2 separate regions of the Homo sapiens genome follow, and region 1 is linked to region 2. Evidence: promoter capture Hi-C in human tissues and cell types (Jung and others, 2019). All regions are on one chromosome and are shown on one strand. The core of a region is centred on a gene start or on the middle of the fragment in contact, and the rest is flanking DNA. Distances in the headings are between cores, read along the strand shown.

The links. Contacts are between HindIII fragments. The study calls those that stand out against the background at their distance.
Region 1: a contact is called between the fragment with the promoter of MRPS12 here and the fragment with the promoter of DPF1 in region 2, in 1 of the 25 tissues and cell types used here (spleen).

Annotation. Positions count from the first base shown.
Region 1 is chr19:38,927,144-38,934,734 of GRCh38, forward strand. It overlaps MRPS12 (mitochondrial ribosomal protein S12), which reads left to right and starts at 3,801. Exons shown (of 3, transcript NM_033362.4): 1 at 3,801-3,855; 2 at 4,133-4,200; 3 at 5,190-6,025. The coding sequence starts at 4,152. The coding sequence ends at 5,557. SARS2 (seryl-tRNA synthetase 2, mitochondrial) reads right to left here and starts at 3,620. Exons shown (of 16, transcript NM_017827.4): 1 at 3,327-3,620. The coding sequence starts at 3,593. RefSeq lists an enhancer at 3,245-3,704. The HindIII fragment of the contact is 13,053 bases long and covers 1-7,591 here.
Region 2 is chr19:38,222,972-38,230,091 of GRCh38, forward strand. DPF1 (double PHD fingers 1) reads right to left here and starts at 1,251. Exons shown (of 12, transcript NM_001135155.3): 1 at 1,143-1,251. The coding sequence starts at 1,171. RefSeq lists silencers at 1,016-1,585, 6,629-7,008 and an enhancer at 4,508-5,278. The HindIII fragment of the contact is 15,736 bases long and covers 1-7,120 here.

The sequences.
Region 1 (7,591 bases), core at 2,551-5,050, 710 kb after region 2:
GCCAGGCTGGTCTGGAATTCCCGGCCTCACGCAATCTGCCTGCCTTGGCCTCCCAAAGTGCTGGGATTGCAGGTGTGAGCCACAGCACCCGGTCTCTACAAAAAAACTTTAAAAAAATTAGCTGGGTGACAGATTGACACCTTGTCTCAAAAACAAAAAAAATTGTTACAATGTACATAATATGGGAGGCTGAGGCAGGTGGATCATTTGAGCCCAGGAGTTCGAGACCAGCCTGGGCAACATGGAGAAACCCTGTCTCTACAAAAATTAGCTGGGCATGGTGGCACATGCTTGTAATCCCAGCTACTTGGGAGGCTGAGGTTGGAGGATTGCTTGTGCTTGAGCCTGGAAGTCTCACGGAGCCTGAGAGGCTGCCATGAGCCAAGATCATGCCACTGCACTCCAGCGTGGGTGACAGAGTGAGACCTTGTCTCCAAAAAAAAAAAAAATTTATTATTTTTTTGAGGAACTGCCATACGGTTTTCCATGGCAGCCGTACCACTTTATACACATTCCCAACAGCAATGCACAACGATTCCGACGTTTCCACAACACAATTCTTGCCAACACTTGTCCTTTTCTGTTTTGTTTTTAATAATAGCTACTTGAGGCTGGGTGTGGTGGCTCACACCTGTAATCCCAGCACTTTGGGAGGCCGAGGCAGGTGGATCACAAAGTTAGGAGTTCGAGACCAGCCTGGCCAAGATGGTGAAACCCTGTCTCTACTAAAAATACAAAAATTAATTGGGGGTGGAGGCGTGCGCCTGTAATCCCAGCTACTCAGGAGGCCAAGGCAGGAGAATTGCTTGAACCCGGGAGGTAGAGATTGCAGTGAGCCAAGACTGCACCACTGCACTCTAGCCTGGGCGACACAGCAAGACTCCATCTCAAACAAACAAACAAACAGCTGCTCAAATGCACGTCTAAACTACTACTTTGAAAATGAAGAGAATAGCCAGGCGCAGTGGCTCATGCCTGTAATCCCAGCACTTTGGGAGGCCGTGGCCAGTGGATCATTTGAAGTTAGGAGTTCGAGACCAGCCTGGCCAACATGGCAAAATCCATCTCTACTAAAAATACAAAAATTAGTTGGGTGTGGTGGTGCACAACTATAACCCTAGCTACTTGGGAGACTGAGGCACGACGATCACTTGAATCAAGGAGGCGGAGGTTGCAGTGACCGGAGATTGTGCGACTGCACTCAGGCCTGGGCGACAGAGGAAGACTCAGTCTTAAAAAACAAACGAACAAACAACAAAAACACACCCCTGGCCCCCCCCCCCGCAAAAAAAAAAAACAACAACTAGCACTTTACAAATGAAAGAGAATATAATTAAAGAACAAGAATGCATCACACGTGGTAAGAGCAATAATTGTTAATGAAACCGGTTTCAATTTTGGGTGTGTGTACTGGGTCAGGATGTGAAATGTATTTCTTACTCTTGGCCACAAAGTTTGAAAAAGCCTGCTAAAGGATGTGACGCTCTAAATTATCTACATGGCCATCAAATGGAATTTTCCATCCTACCTCCAGGCTTTTGTATATTCTGGTCCCCTACTTGGGATACTCTTCTTCCCTCTTCCCTGGTGATTTCTCAATCCACAGATCTTTGTTTAATGCCACCTCCTCTGAGAAGTCCTCCCAGGCTGTCCTCCACTTTGCCTTCACAGCATTTACCACAGATTATAATGAGTATATCTGTCTCTATGAATTTGATTACTCTAGGTAGTCAAATTTACCAGAAATTGTAATTAGTATATATGTATAGTTGTATATGTTAAATGTCTTTTAGTGGGGCATGGTGGCTCACATCTGTACTCCTAGCACTTTGGGAGGCCAAGGTGGGTGGATCACTTGAGGTCAAGAGTTCGAGACCAGCCTGGCCAACATGGTGAAACCCCGTCTCTACTAAAAATACAAAAATTATGCAGATGTGGTGGCATGTGCCTGTAATCCCAGCTACTCGGGAGGCTGAGGTGGGAGAATCACTTCAACCTGGGAGGCAGAAGTCGCAGCGCACTCCAGCCTGGGAGACAAGAGCAAAACTCCATCTCAAAAAAAAAATGTCTTTTACTAGACTGTGAACTCAGATCATGAGAGGGCACAGCAGGGTACTTAAGATTGTGGAGTCTGGGTGTGGTGGCTCATGCCTGTAATCTCAGCATTTTGGGAGGCCAGGGTGGGAGGATCACTTGGGCGCAGGAGTTCAAGACCAGCCTGGGCAACATAGTATGTCCCTGTCTCAACAAAAAATACAAAAGTTTAGCCGGGCGTGGTGGTGTCTGCCTGTAGTCCCAGCTACACGGGAGGCTGAGTGGGAGGATTATTTGAGCTCAGGAATTCAAGGTTCCAGTGAGCTATAATTGTACCACTGTACTCCATCCTGCCATCCTGGGCGACAGAACAACACCCTATCTCAAAAAAAAAAAAAAAAAAAGTGGATTCTAGGCCAGAAAGCACAGGTTAAAATTCCCACTCTGCCACTTCCCAGTTGCATGACCTAGCGCAAGTGAATTAGCTTCTCGAAGCCTTAGTTTCCCCTCTGATAAAATGGGAGAAATAATGGCACCTACTTCATAGAGTTGCTGTGAAAATTAAACGAGGTTAAAGTGAATAAAGCACTTCAAACAGGCTGGGAGGGGAGTCCAAGAGAGGAATGGGAAGACGTGGGGACCCCACTATCGTTAGCACCTCAACACAGAGATATTGTGAACCCGGTCCTAATTCCCTTTTATAAGTGCTAGCAATTTTATTATTATTCACCGCATATTTGCAACATCTAGAACACCGGAATATAGCAGTTGCACCTTAAGTATCAGTTTAATAGAACCATTCATTAATGGATTCATTCATTCATTCATTAACTCTATTTAACTGCCTGCTATGTGTGGCGGAGGTGCACAACTCTCCCTACCTCTCTCTCTAAACGCAAGAGCTCCACCACACCCCAGCCCTGACCCCGTCCGATTCACACTTGGCTCCCCATTTTCCTTTGTGGTCTTAGGGAAAGGCTGGCATGAGGTTGCAGCACGGAGGGCAATGTCACATAGCAAGTTCCTAAAGGACAGGAGGTACCCAGCGAGCAGTATGAAACAAGCGCATAATGGGTGTCCAGGACACAGTAGGCATTCTTGGCACATAGTAGGGCCTCAGCACTCACTGGACAACTGGCACATAAGTGGGTGCCATGCACAAGACGTTGGCTAACTTGGGAAATAACTAAAATTCCTACTACAGGTTCGCCCCCTGCCGGAGGGCATCTTGCAAACCCAATTCTTCCGTAAAGCAAACGTCTGCGCCCCCCGGCCGGCGCAGGCGCACTCACGATCGCGGGCAGGTCCGCCGAGCGCAGCTCCCCCTTGCGGAGCTCCAGGGCGTGTGCGGCCTCTTCTGGGCATGCGCAGAACCGCTCTATGTCCAGCTGAGGGAGTGCGCTGTAGCCCTCGCGCGCATACTCGTACAGGAGGTTCCGGTTTCGTTTCTCTGTAGTGAAACTTCTCCTTGGACTATCGTTGGAGATGCAGCCTCCCCGGGGCCGGAACCCCCGACGAGTCAGCAAAGGCCACAAGCGCCGCGCCATGGACGCAGCCATCTTGGACCGGGAACAAGGCGGCACTTCGTCCCGCCCACTCCGCGTTTAGACCAATTGCAAGGCAGCGAACCTGACCGTGACGAGCCAATCAGATCCTGAGGAAAGTTGACCGCGATAGAGTCCTTCGTCGCCCAATCGTCGTCTGTGTCCCGCCTCTTCAGTGACGCGAGGCAGAACCAGCCAATCCCTGCACGGATAGCGCCCGGAAGAGGCTAGAAGCTGGATTCAGCGTGTCCGCGACCTCACCTTTAGGTCCTGTGAGGTCGGTGGAATCCTGGGGTCCTCCAAATCTACCAGGCCATCTCCCCAGTTTCCCAGTTCTTCCTGCGTGCGGGCGAGAGTGGTTGGGCCCTCGGGAACCCACTCAGAGCGAGGCTAAATTTACGGAGGGACTTTCTGTTAGCAGCATGAGGGCCTGTGGTTAGACCTATAGAGGTATTTCCTTTGATTTAAGCCAGAAAGTCCTGAGAGCGGATCGGGGAGCATTTGCGGATCGGTCACTTTTTCCTCCTTTCTGAGTCTCTTATCCCCTACCACAGGGACGGCCCAGGTGGCAGGATGTCCTGGTCTGGCCTTCTCCATGGCCTCAACACGTCCCTAACTTGTGGTAAGTGGGGGACTTGGGCTTCAGGGACGAGGCTAGAGGGGGAGGGTTATTCGCTCTTGGACTTGTGTGCCTCCGTCGGAGCCCCGAGGGAAACGGGGGTGGAAAAACACGGTGGGGTTTTGGCAGAGCTAGGGCTGCTAGAGCAAGAGGTGGGAAGCAGCTGCATGGAGGGCTACTGCGTGTCAAGCGGCGTTTGGGTCAGTTTTATTATTTATTTATTTAAGATCTCCCTCTGTCGCCCAGGCTGAAGTGCAGCGGTGTGATCACAGCTCACTGCAGTCTCGACCTCCTGGGCTCAAGTGATCCTCCCGCCTCAGCCTCCCAAGTAGCTGGGACCACAGGCCTGCAGAACCACAACCAGCTAACTTTTTGATTCTTTGTAGAGAGGGAGGTCTCCCTGTGTCGCCCAGTCTGGCCTTAACTCCTGAGCTCAAGTGACCCTCCACAGCCTCCAAAAGTGCTAGGATTACATGCATGAGCCACTGAGCCTACTATTATTTTAAACAGCATTAAAAATAATGCTTCCTGGCCAGCCGTGGTGGCTCACGCCTGTAATCCCAGCACTTTGAGAGGCCGAGGTCAGGAGTTCGAGACCAGCCTGACCAACATGGTGAAACCCCGTCTCTACTTAAAAATACGAAGATTAGCCGAGCGTGGTGGTGGGTGCCTGTAGTCCCAGCTGCTCAGGAGGCTGAGACAGGAGAATTGCTTGAACCCAGGAGGCAGAGGTTGCAGTGGGCCAAGATTGAGGTACTGCACTCCAGCCTGGGCGACAGAGTGAGACTTTGTCTCAAAAAAAAAAAAGAAAAAAAAAAAAAAGGTAATGCTTCCTTGAAGAATAAAGAGTTACTTTTGTCTGTAGATAACATTAGATGTGAACAAATGCATCTTTGTAAAGTGCTTTAAACAATGCCTAAAACACCAAAATTGAGTTGCTACTACTCTAAGATCTGTTCTCTGGGATAATAACCCCTTTCGGCCCTCTCCAGGCCCAGCTCTGGTTCCCCGGCTCTGGGCTACCTGCTCCATGGCTACCCTGAACCAGATGCACCGCCTGGGGCCCCCCAAGCGGCCGCCTCGGAAGCTGGGCCCCACGGAAGGCCGGCCGCAGCTGAAGGGTGTGGTCCTGTGCACGTTTACCCGCAAGCCGAAGAAGCCCAACTCAGCCAATCGCAAGTGCTGTCGAGTGCGGCTCAGCACTGGCCGCGAGGCCGTCTGCTTCATCCCTGGGGAGGGCCACACCCTGCAGGAGCACCAGATTGTCCTTGTGGAGGGCGGCCGCACCCAGGACCTGCCAGGCGTCAAGCTCACCGTTGTGCGTGGCAAGTACGACTGTGGCCACGTGCAGAAGAAGTGACGGCTGGGGGCACAGTGGGCTGGGCGCCCCTGCAGAACATGAACCTTCCGCTCCTGGCTGCCACAGGGTCCTCCGATGCTGGCCTTTGCGCCTCTAGAGGCAGCCACTCATGGATTCAAGTCCTGGCTCCGCCTCTTCCATCAGGACCACTATTAAGCCATAGGAGTCCTGGGGGTGCAAAGGGTGCCCCTCTGTCAACACCCTTGGCTCCTGTGTTTAGAGGGGTGGCCTGAAGGACCTTTTCTGCTGGGACAAGACACTGTACTGCCCTCTGCTGGGAAGGGGTTTTAATAAACAGACCCTGGCGCTTGTGATGTAAATCCCCTTGTGGAGTATTTGCCCTCTGTGTGGCTGTGGCAGTGGACATCTCTGAGCTTCAGTTTCCTCCAGAAAATAGCTCCATTGGTGGTATCTCCTTTGTTTGGTTTGGTGAAGATTAAATTCGATGCTCTATGTGCATAACACGCACGGAGGGCTCTTTTTTTTTTTTTTAGACAAAGTCTCACTCTGTTGCCCAGGCTGGAGTGCAGTGGCCTGATCTCAGCTCACTGCAACCTCTGCCCCCCGGGTTCATATGATTCTCCTGCCTCAGCCTCCCGAGTAGCTGGGATTGTAGGCACACACCACCAGGCCTGGCTAATTTTTGTATTTTTAGTAGAGACAGCGTTTCACCATGTTGGCCAGGCTGGTCTCAAACTCCTGAGCTCGGGTGATCTGCCCACCTTGGCCTCCCAAAGTGCTGGGATTACAGGCGTGAGCCACCACGCCTGGCAGAGGGCTACTGTATTTTAAGCTTAGGAGTCAGGTAGGTGGCACAGAGGCCCAGGTCTTCTTCCTGCAGGCCATGGGTTCTGGGCACATAAACTCTGCCCTCAAGCATGGACAGCTGGAAAATGGCAGTAATTGTAATGTTGATGTGGAAGGGGTGTGGAAAGGATTCAATGGGGTGTGCTGCTCCACACCCGGGAGCTGTTCTTTTATTTTATACGTGTGTGTGTGTGTGTGTGTGTGTGTGTGTGTTTGTGTGTGTTTGTGTAGAGAGAGAGACAGAGTCTCACTGTGTTGTCCAGGCTGGAGTGCGGTTCTATGATCAAAGCTTACTTCAGCCTTGACCTCCTGAGCTCAATAGATCCTCCCGCCTCAGCCTCCTGAGTAGTCAGGACCACAGGTGTGTGCCACCACACCTGGCTAACTTTTCCATTTTTTTAGAGTGGGAATCTGGCTTTGTTGTCCAGGCTGGTCTCGAACTCTTGGCCTCAAGAGATCCTTCCACCTTGGCCTCCTAAAATGCTGGATTATAGGTGTGAGCCACTATTATATTATATAATAATATAAAATTATTACTGGGTTCACCTGAGCTCAAATTCTGCTCCCCGTCATAATTGCTATGAGACCTGGCTATGTTGGTTCCCCCTATGGGCCTCGGTTTCCTCCCTTGGAAAATGGCACTGATGATAATGCTGACTGCACCTGATCATGTTTTTGGCCATGTAAGATTTAAGAAGTGGGGCCAGGTGCAGTGGCTCATGCCTGTAATCTCAACACTTTGGGAGGCCGAGGTGGGCCGACCACTTGAGGTCAGGAGTTTGAGACCAGCCTGGCCAACATGGTGAAACCCTGTCTCTACTAAAAATACAAAAATTACCCGGGCATGGTGGCATGTGCCTATAATCTCAGCTACTCAGGAGGCTGAGGCAGGAGACTTGCTTGAACCTGGGAGGTGGAGGTTGCAGTGAGCTGAGATCAGCACCACTGCACTGCAGCCTGGGTGACAGAGTGAGACTCTGTCTCAAAAAAAGAAAAAAGAAAAAACAATGTTGGAACTGTGTTTATATCATTGGGCTCTGGAGCCCAGCACTGCTCCAAGCCCTGCCTCCCCTACTTACTGGCTGGGTGACCTTGGGCAGGTTGTTTACACTCTGAGCCTGGACCAAATGGCGCTGATAAGGGTGCATGCTTGAGAGCTGTTTGGAGCATCATAGCTGTCTCCGAGTTCCTCTTGACGCTCAACACACAGCCTCCTGAGGGTCTCCT
Region 2 (7,120 bases), core at 1-2,500:
TATCCCTACCTGAACACATGCAGACACACAACACAAATCACACACAGTCACACGGGATTCACACACAAAGAGAGACAAATCCCAATACTCACAAAGGAGAAACAGACAAACCTCACACACGTGCACACATAAATATCTACTGAAAAAGACAAATATCCCAAGTTCCATAGTGTGGAGACAAATCACACAAATAACCATGCACAAAGACACATCACATATCCACAGACACACACCAGAAACACATCACCCACACAAAGACACACAACATGGAAACATCACACCACACACACATACACCCCCTCATGCATCCAAAGACACAAGCATGTCAAAAGACAGGAACTACAGAAACCACTTGCGCCCCTAGGCACTTACCCATGTATCCAAAGACACAACACAAACCACACACACAATATCCAGACACACAACACAAAGAAATCACACAGATTCACACAGGTACACACACACATTTACAAAGATGCACGATGCGCAACCAGTATCTAAAATATCACACATCCACACAGACACACACACATATAAAACACAGAAACAGCCAAATCCACCCATAGTCACACAAAAATTTACACACAAATACACGCAGCCCTACATACCCAAAAACACAGAACACAAGACAAATGACATATAGTTCCAAAGGACACGGACACACACTGGGAGACCCAAATATCCAAAGATATCTAGTGCAGAATAAAAGGAAACAGACACATGTCCACACACCTATCCCCCAAAAATTCTTAAAAAAACCAGAACACAAATAAGTGATACACACACACACTCCACATCCCAAGACAAAGGTAGTGTGGACTTCACTCCAGTTGCCAAGGCCCCCGCACCCCCGGGTCATTTCAGTCTCTCCCAGACCCGAGGGTTGCAGGGAAGGGATGATGTCTCCCTTCCCCAAAAAGAATCTGGAGGCCCCCCACGCCCTCCACCCCGCCAGGGAGCGGTGCATCCGACACCATTCTTGTCAGAGACCCACAGTCACACACTCTCGCACCCCCGCGCAGCCCCGCACTCGGTGACAGCCCCCCAGACACCCCTTCGGCCCCACCCCCGGTCGCCACACACACACAGGCCCGCGTAGACCCGCCCGCGCTTCCTCTCCGCCTCCCGCCGGCCCGCACCACCTCAGGGGGCCAGGGATGACAGTGGCCATCTTGCTCCCCGGGTCCTGCCCCCAGCAGGTCCCCGCCGGGTCGGTCCTCCCAGCGGTCGGGCGGGCGCTGAGGCCGCCCATCCATTCATTCCCGGGGGGCGGGAGCACGAGGGCCACGGCCAATCGCGGCGACGGGGCGGGCCCGCCCGGGCCATGCTGGGAGTGGTAGTCCCAGGCCAGGGGGCCCCCGGGACCCCGCGGGGACGGGACGGCGCGGAGGAGGGGCCCGGGGCACGCACCGTCACTCACCCGCCCTCACTCGTCCACATATCCTGCTCTCGCGTGCACACAACCACATGCACACCTGGACTCGCACACGCCCACGCATGGCAGTTTACACACACATTCACGCGGATACTCACAGCCTCCCACACACTCCTACTCACACACCTTCGCACGGACTCACACAGCCACACGCACACACACTGCAATACTAAGAGACGCAGAGACACCTCCCAGGTGCCCACACAGACTTCTCACCAACATGCTTCCAGCAGACACCCCCTCACCGCCCCCCACCCAAGTCCCTCCTGGCTCCAGAGACCCCACCCGGGGCTGTCTCTCCCAGCAGCCACGCTCACGGTCACCCCGCCCTGCTCAACGCCTTCTGCAGGCCTGACAGCAGCAGTGCAGGTTAGAAACAGTAGTCACACCTCCAGGGTTCAAATCCTAGCTCTGCCACTTGGTGGCCATGTGACCTTGGCAAATGACTTAACCTTTCTGGGCCTCAGTTTCCTCATCTGTAAAAAGAGGATGATGCCTCACTGGAGTGTTGTGAGGATTAAATGAGTAAATATAGGTAAAGCATTTTAAGAGGTGACTGGCAGGCCAGGCGCAGTGGCTCACACCTGTAATCCCGGCACTTTGGGAGGCCCAGGCAGGTGGATCACCTGAGGATGGGAGTTCGAGACCAGCCTGGCCAACATGGTAGTAGTCTCTACTAAAAATACAAAATTAGCCGGGCATGGTGGCGCATGCTTATACTCCCCCACTCAGGAGGCTGAGGCAGGAGAATCACTTGAACTCAGGAGGTGGAGGTTGCAGTGAGCTGAGATCGTGCCATTGCACTCCAGCCTGGGCAACAAGAGTGAGACTCCCTCTCAAAAATAAATAAATAAATAATAAGAAAGAAAGAATAATGCGGCCAGGTGCGATGGCTCCAGTCTGCAATCCCAGTACTTCGGGAGGCCTAGATGAGAGCACTGCTTGAGCCCAGGAGTTTGAGACCAACCTGGGCAACATATCCAGACCCCTGTGTCTACAAAAAAAAATTAAAATTAGCTGGGCATGATGGCGCAGCAGTGTAGTCCCAGCTACTTGCAAGGCTAAAGTGGGAGGATAGCTTGAACCTGGGAGGCTGAGGCTGCAGTGAGCTGTGGTCTCACCACTGCACTCCAGCCTGGGTGGCAGAGCGAGACTCTGTCTCTAAAAGCAAACAAACAAACAAACAAACAAACAAAAAACTAAGTAAGCAGGGCGCCGTGACTCATGCCTGTAATCCCAGCAATCTGGGAGGCTGAGATGAGAGGACCGCTTGAGCTCAGGAGAACAGCCTGGGCAACATAGCGAGACCTGGTCTCTACTAAAAAAAAAATAAATAGCTGGGCATGGTGGCACATGCCTATGGTCCCAGCTACTCAGGAGGCTGAGTCAGGAGGATTGGTTGAACCCAGGAGATCGAAGCTGCAGTGAGCTATGATCACACCACTACACTCCAGCCTGGACAACTGAGCAAGACCCTGTCTCCAAAAAAAAAAAAAAAAATAGATGCTCAGTAGATATTTGTTGAATGAGTAAATGCACCCATCATGTGCTGGGCACAGTTCACCCCGGGATGCTTTTATTATCTGCATTTTCCAGGTGAGGAATCTGAGGCACAGGAAGGTAACCTCACATGCCCGCATGCCCTGGCGGCTCTTTGAAGGTAAGACTGAAGGAAGGAGGCAGGCACCCCTGACGGCCCTCCCCAAGTAGTCCTGACCTCCTTCTCTCTCCCACTGTCACCCACACTGACTCCACCCGAAGAGATCCCCAGGGAGTGAGCAGACCCACTGAGTCACAAACTGACCCAGTCTCTCTGCAACACCACCACCCCGTCCCCCCTCCCGTCTCACCCCTCCTCCCCCTTTCCCCTTCCCACCCCTTCTCCCCCTTTCCCCTTCCCCTCTTCCACCCGGACCCCTGTAGAGCCAGCATTCAAATTTGGGCGGCTGCTGTAATTAACACGCCCACAAACGCCCTCATCCACCAGGGGGCGCCCCAGCCGACAGAAGTGGCCCGCTAGCCTTCACCATTTTTGTCACTTGAAATCCCCCCAAGAGAGAGATCCAGTCAAGGCCTCCTACACTCACGGTCACTTCTACACACACACACACACACACACACACACACACACACTCCTCTAGTCTTAGACCCTTTCCACAAACTCGCCCATCTAAGCCAGGTAAGGTCTTGGCCGGCCCCTCTCCTGGAACAGGAGGTAGGTCTCTGATTCACATATGGCCTGGAGTGGTGACAAGGGGATTAAGTGAGGGGCACTGACACCCCTACGATCACTCTGGCCTCCAGGGCCCTATAGTGGCCACCTCACACCTTACCCACGGTGAGCTGTGACCCCACCTTCCTCTCTCACCTCCCATTAGCTCACAGGTCCCGTAACACACCCTCTTACACTTGATTCCCACACCGCTAGCCTCAGACACGCAGACTCACTCCTGCCCCACCCCAAACTCTCATGTCGATTTGATTAAGAGAAGCCCGAGTGTAGACACTGAGTGCAGACCTTCCTAACAGTCCTCCTCTACCAGCAGAATTTCTATTTTTCTTTCTTTTCTTTTCTTCTTTTATTTCTCTTCCTTCCTTCCTTCCTTCCTTCCTTCCTTCCTTCCTTCCTTTCTTTCTTTCTTTCTTTTCTTCTCTTTCTTTCCTCTTTCTCTTTTTCTCTTTTTTTTTTTTGGACAGCGTCTCACTCGATGGCCCAGGCTGGAGTGCCATGGCATGAACACAGCTCGCTGCAGCCTCCACCTCCCAGGCTCAAGCGATCCTCCCACCTCAAACCCCCAAGTAGCTGGGACTACAGGCCTGTGCCACCGCACCCGGCTAATTTTTGTATTTTTGTAAAAACAGGGTGTCCCTGTGTTGGCCAGGCTAGTCTCAAACTCCTAAGCTCAAGTGATCTGCCCACCCTGCCCTCCCAAAGTGCTGAGATTACAGGCATAAGCCACCATGCCCGGCCCACCAGCAGGATATCTACCCACAGACGCAGGCTGACACTTGCAGCGGGCTCTCCTTTCTTTCCTTCTGCCCTAACCACCTGCACACACCACTCCCACATACTCTCCTACACACTTGAACTCCCAGTCCTCTCCCTGGCCCAAACAATCCTCCTGCCCCATCCCCCAATGCCCTGTGTGGGAGCTGGCCCACAGTAGAAATCAATTTCATAAATCAATATTGATACTACTAATAATAATCACTACATTTGGTCAGTGTCAGTCTCTGTGCTAACTGCTTTACAAAGATGGCCTTAGCCCCACGACAGTCCCATCGGGTGGTAAGGGCTGTTAGAAGCCCCCATACACAGATGGCAAAACTGAGGCTCACGGCAGGGAACATTCGTGGCTCAAGCTGGTTTTGGAACTCAGGCAGTCGGAACTTCCGAGGGCGGCACCCTGCAGCTCCTTCTCCCCAGGGGATTTGACTCACATTCTTTCAGGAGCCAGGGAGTCCCCACCTTCACCCCCACAGAGACCTTTTGGAAGGGAAGGGCACAGAGGGGTAGGGCCCTCCCAGTCCAGGCTTACTGTAGCTGGGCCCCTGCTCACGGCTGTAGCACACCTCCTCCCAGGGGTCTGGGCCAGGGTCAGGGTGAGGGGCCCCATCGCCTGTAGATCCACCAACCTGCACAAGAGCCCCGTTCCCAGCCATTTTGCGGATGTCCCCTCACAGGAGAGACAGCTGTCTGTGTGTGCCACTTAGGGTGAGAGGGCAGCAGAGGGGTGTCACCATCATACACCACCTCACACGGACCCGAGCCCCACACACCCGCTCCCGGCACCCTGCTCACGGCGAAGCCACACGTGTAGGCGCTTGCCTCTAAGTCCCTGCCCCCCTTCCTCTCCCAACTCCCACCCTCCACCTCCCACCCCCATTCCCGCCAGAAACCAGAAGCAACTGGCGGCCTCTGGTCCAGCCAGCAGGCGCATCCCTTCTCGTGGGTGGGGTAGGGGGGCGCTCCCTCTCTCCCTCTCTCCCCCCACCCCCCACCCCCGCCCCCAGCCCTCGATGTTCAAGGTCAAGGCAGCCAGCGCACGGGGTTGGGGGAAGGGTGGGGGAGGTCGCCCCGGCCCCTTTGTGCGACGCCGCGGGCGCTCGCCCTCCGCCTCCTCCACCAGGCCCGGGAGGAGGGGGAGGGGAGCGCCTCGCTCGCCTGCGGGGAGGGAGGGCGGGAGCGGCCGAGTGCCTGTCACTTGGAGCCCGCTGTCACCGCCTGGGAACGGGGGGTGGGGAGCGCTGGGACGTGGAGTCCGGGATCCCGAAGAGGAAGCAAGAGCGAGATGGAGAGGGGGAAGGGGAGGTGTGGAGAGCGCGAGGGATGGCAAGGAGAGGAGAGGGTCAGGAGGGGCCAGGCTCGGACCCAGGCTTCCGGATTCCCAGCCACCGGGCCCGGGAAGAGGCGAACGCTCGGAGGACCGCGGCCAGGGAGAAAGGGAGGGAATCCCCGGAGACCGAGGGCGCTCCCGGCACCCCCTCCTGGGCAGCCGGTCCCCAAAGGGATCAGAGATGCTCCCGTTTGATGTGTATGCGCGGGGAGAGGGAGGGATGCCGCGGTCCAGACTGACGGCGGGTTCGGGGCTTCCAGTTCCCGGGATCCCGGGAGGAAAAAGGGGAGGCAGCGGGGATGGAACTGGGGACCCCCGACGTCTCAGCTCCCACCCTGCGGCCGCGAGGGCCGGGGTCCTCAGAGAAAGAAGGGGAAAGAGAGAAAGGCGCTTTGATGAGCGGAGAGCGGGTGATGGAAACCCTGGAGACCGAGGTCCGGACTTAGGTGTTCGAGCTTTCAGCCCCGGCCGGGGCAGGCCCGGCACCTCCGGAGACCCTGAGGGAGAGATGGAGGAGAGGGAAACCCCTACCCCCACTCTGGGTGGGGAAACGGCCTCCGCCACCCCCAGCCCGCGCCGCATTCCTTCACTGACAGCGACAAAGAAGAGGCGCCCCCGCGACCCTGGAGGGGCTCCCGCCCCCAACCCCAGGGGGCGACAGGGGGTGGGGACCCCCGGGGCAAGGGTTCGCGCTGGGGGCCCCCATTCAACTACGGTCCGCGCGCTGCGTCCCCCTCCTCAGCCCCAGGGCGGGCGGGGGAAGGGCTCCTGGTGGGGGGGTCTGGACAGGGGGCGGGGACGGCAGGGACACTCACGACTTGAGCGGGTTCTGAATGGCGGTGGCCATGGCCCGCTCGGCTGGGCCGCCTCCGGCCCGGGGCGCCGCTGCCGCCGCGCGCGGGCCCAGCCCGGCCTGCGCCGCCCGCTCTGCCGCCCAGCGCGCTACGATTTCATTCATTCTTGGGGCTGCGGCGCGAGCGGAGCGGGGCGGGCCGGGGGCGGGGCTCAGCCAATCCCCGCGCCTCCCAGCGCACGACGGGACGTGGAGTCTAGGGGCGCGCGGCGGCGCCCGAGGGCGCCCCTGCCCGGACTACACGTCCCAGGGGGCGTCAGGAGGACCGCGCTCCCATTGGCTGCTGGGGATACAGGGAGGGGCGGGGCTCCCCCCAGAGCATCTTTCCTCCCTCCCTGGGAGTGCTCGGTCTCCAACTCGGGATCTCCACCCTCCAGGCACCGCGGGCGCGGAAGCAGGTGGTCCCTAGCTTCTAGATGTCCCCAGGGTATGTGGATGACCCTAGGGTCTGTCGTGTATTCTTGTCTAGGCCTATTTGGGTGTCTCTTCTATGTC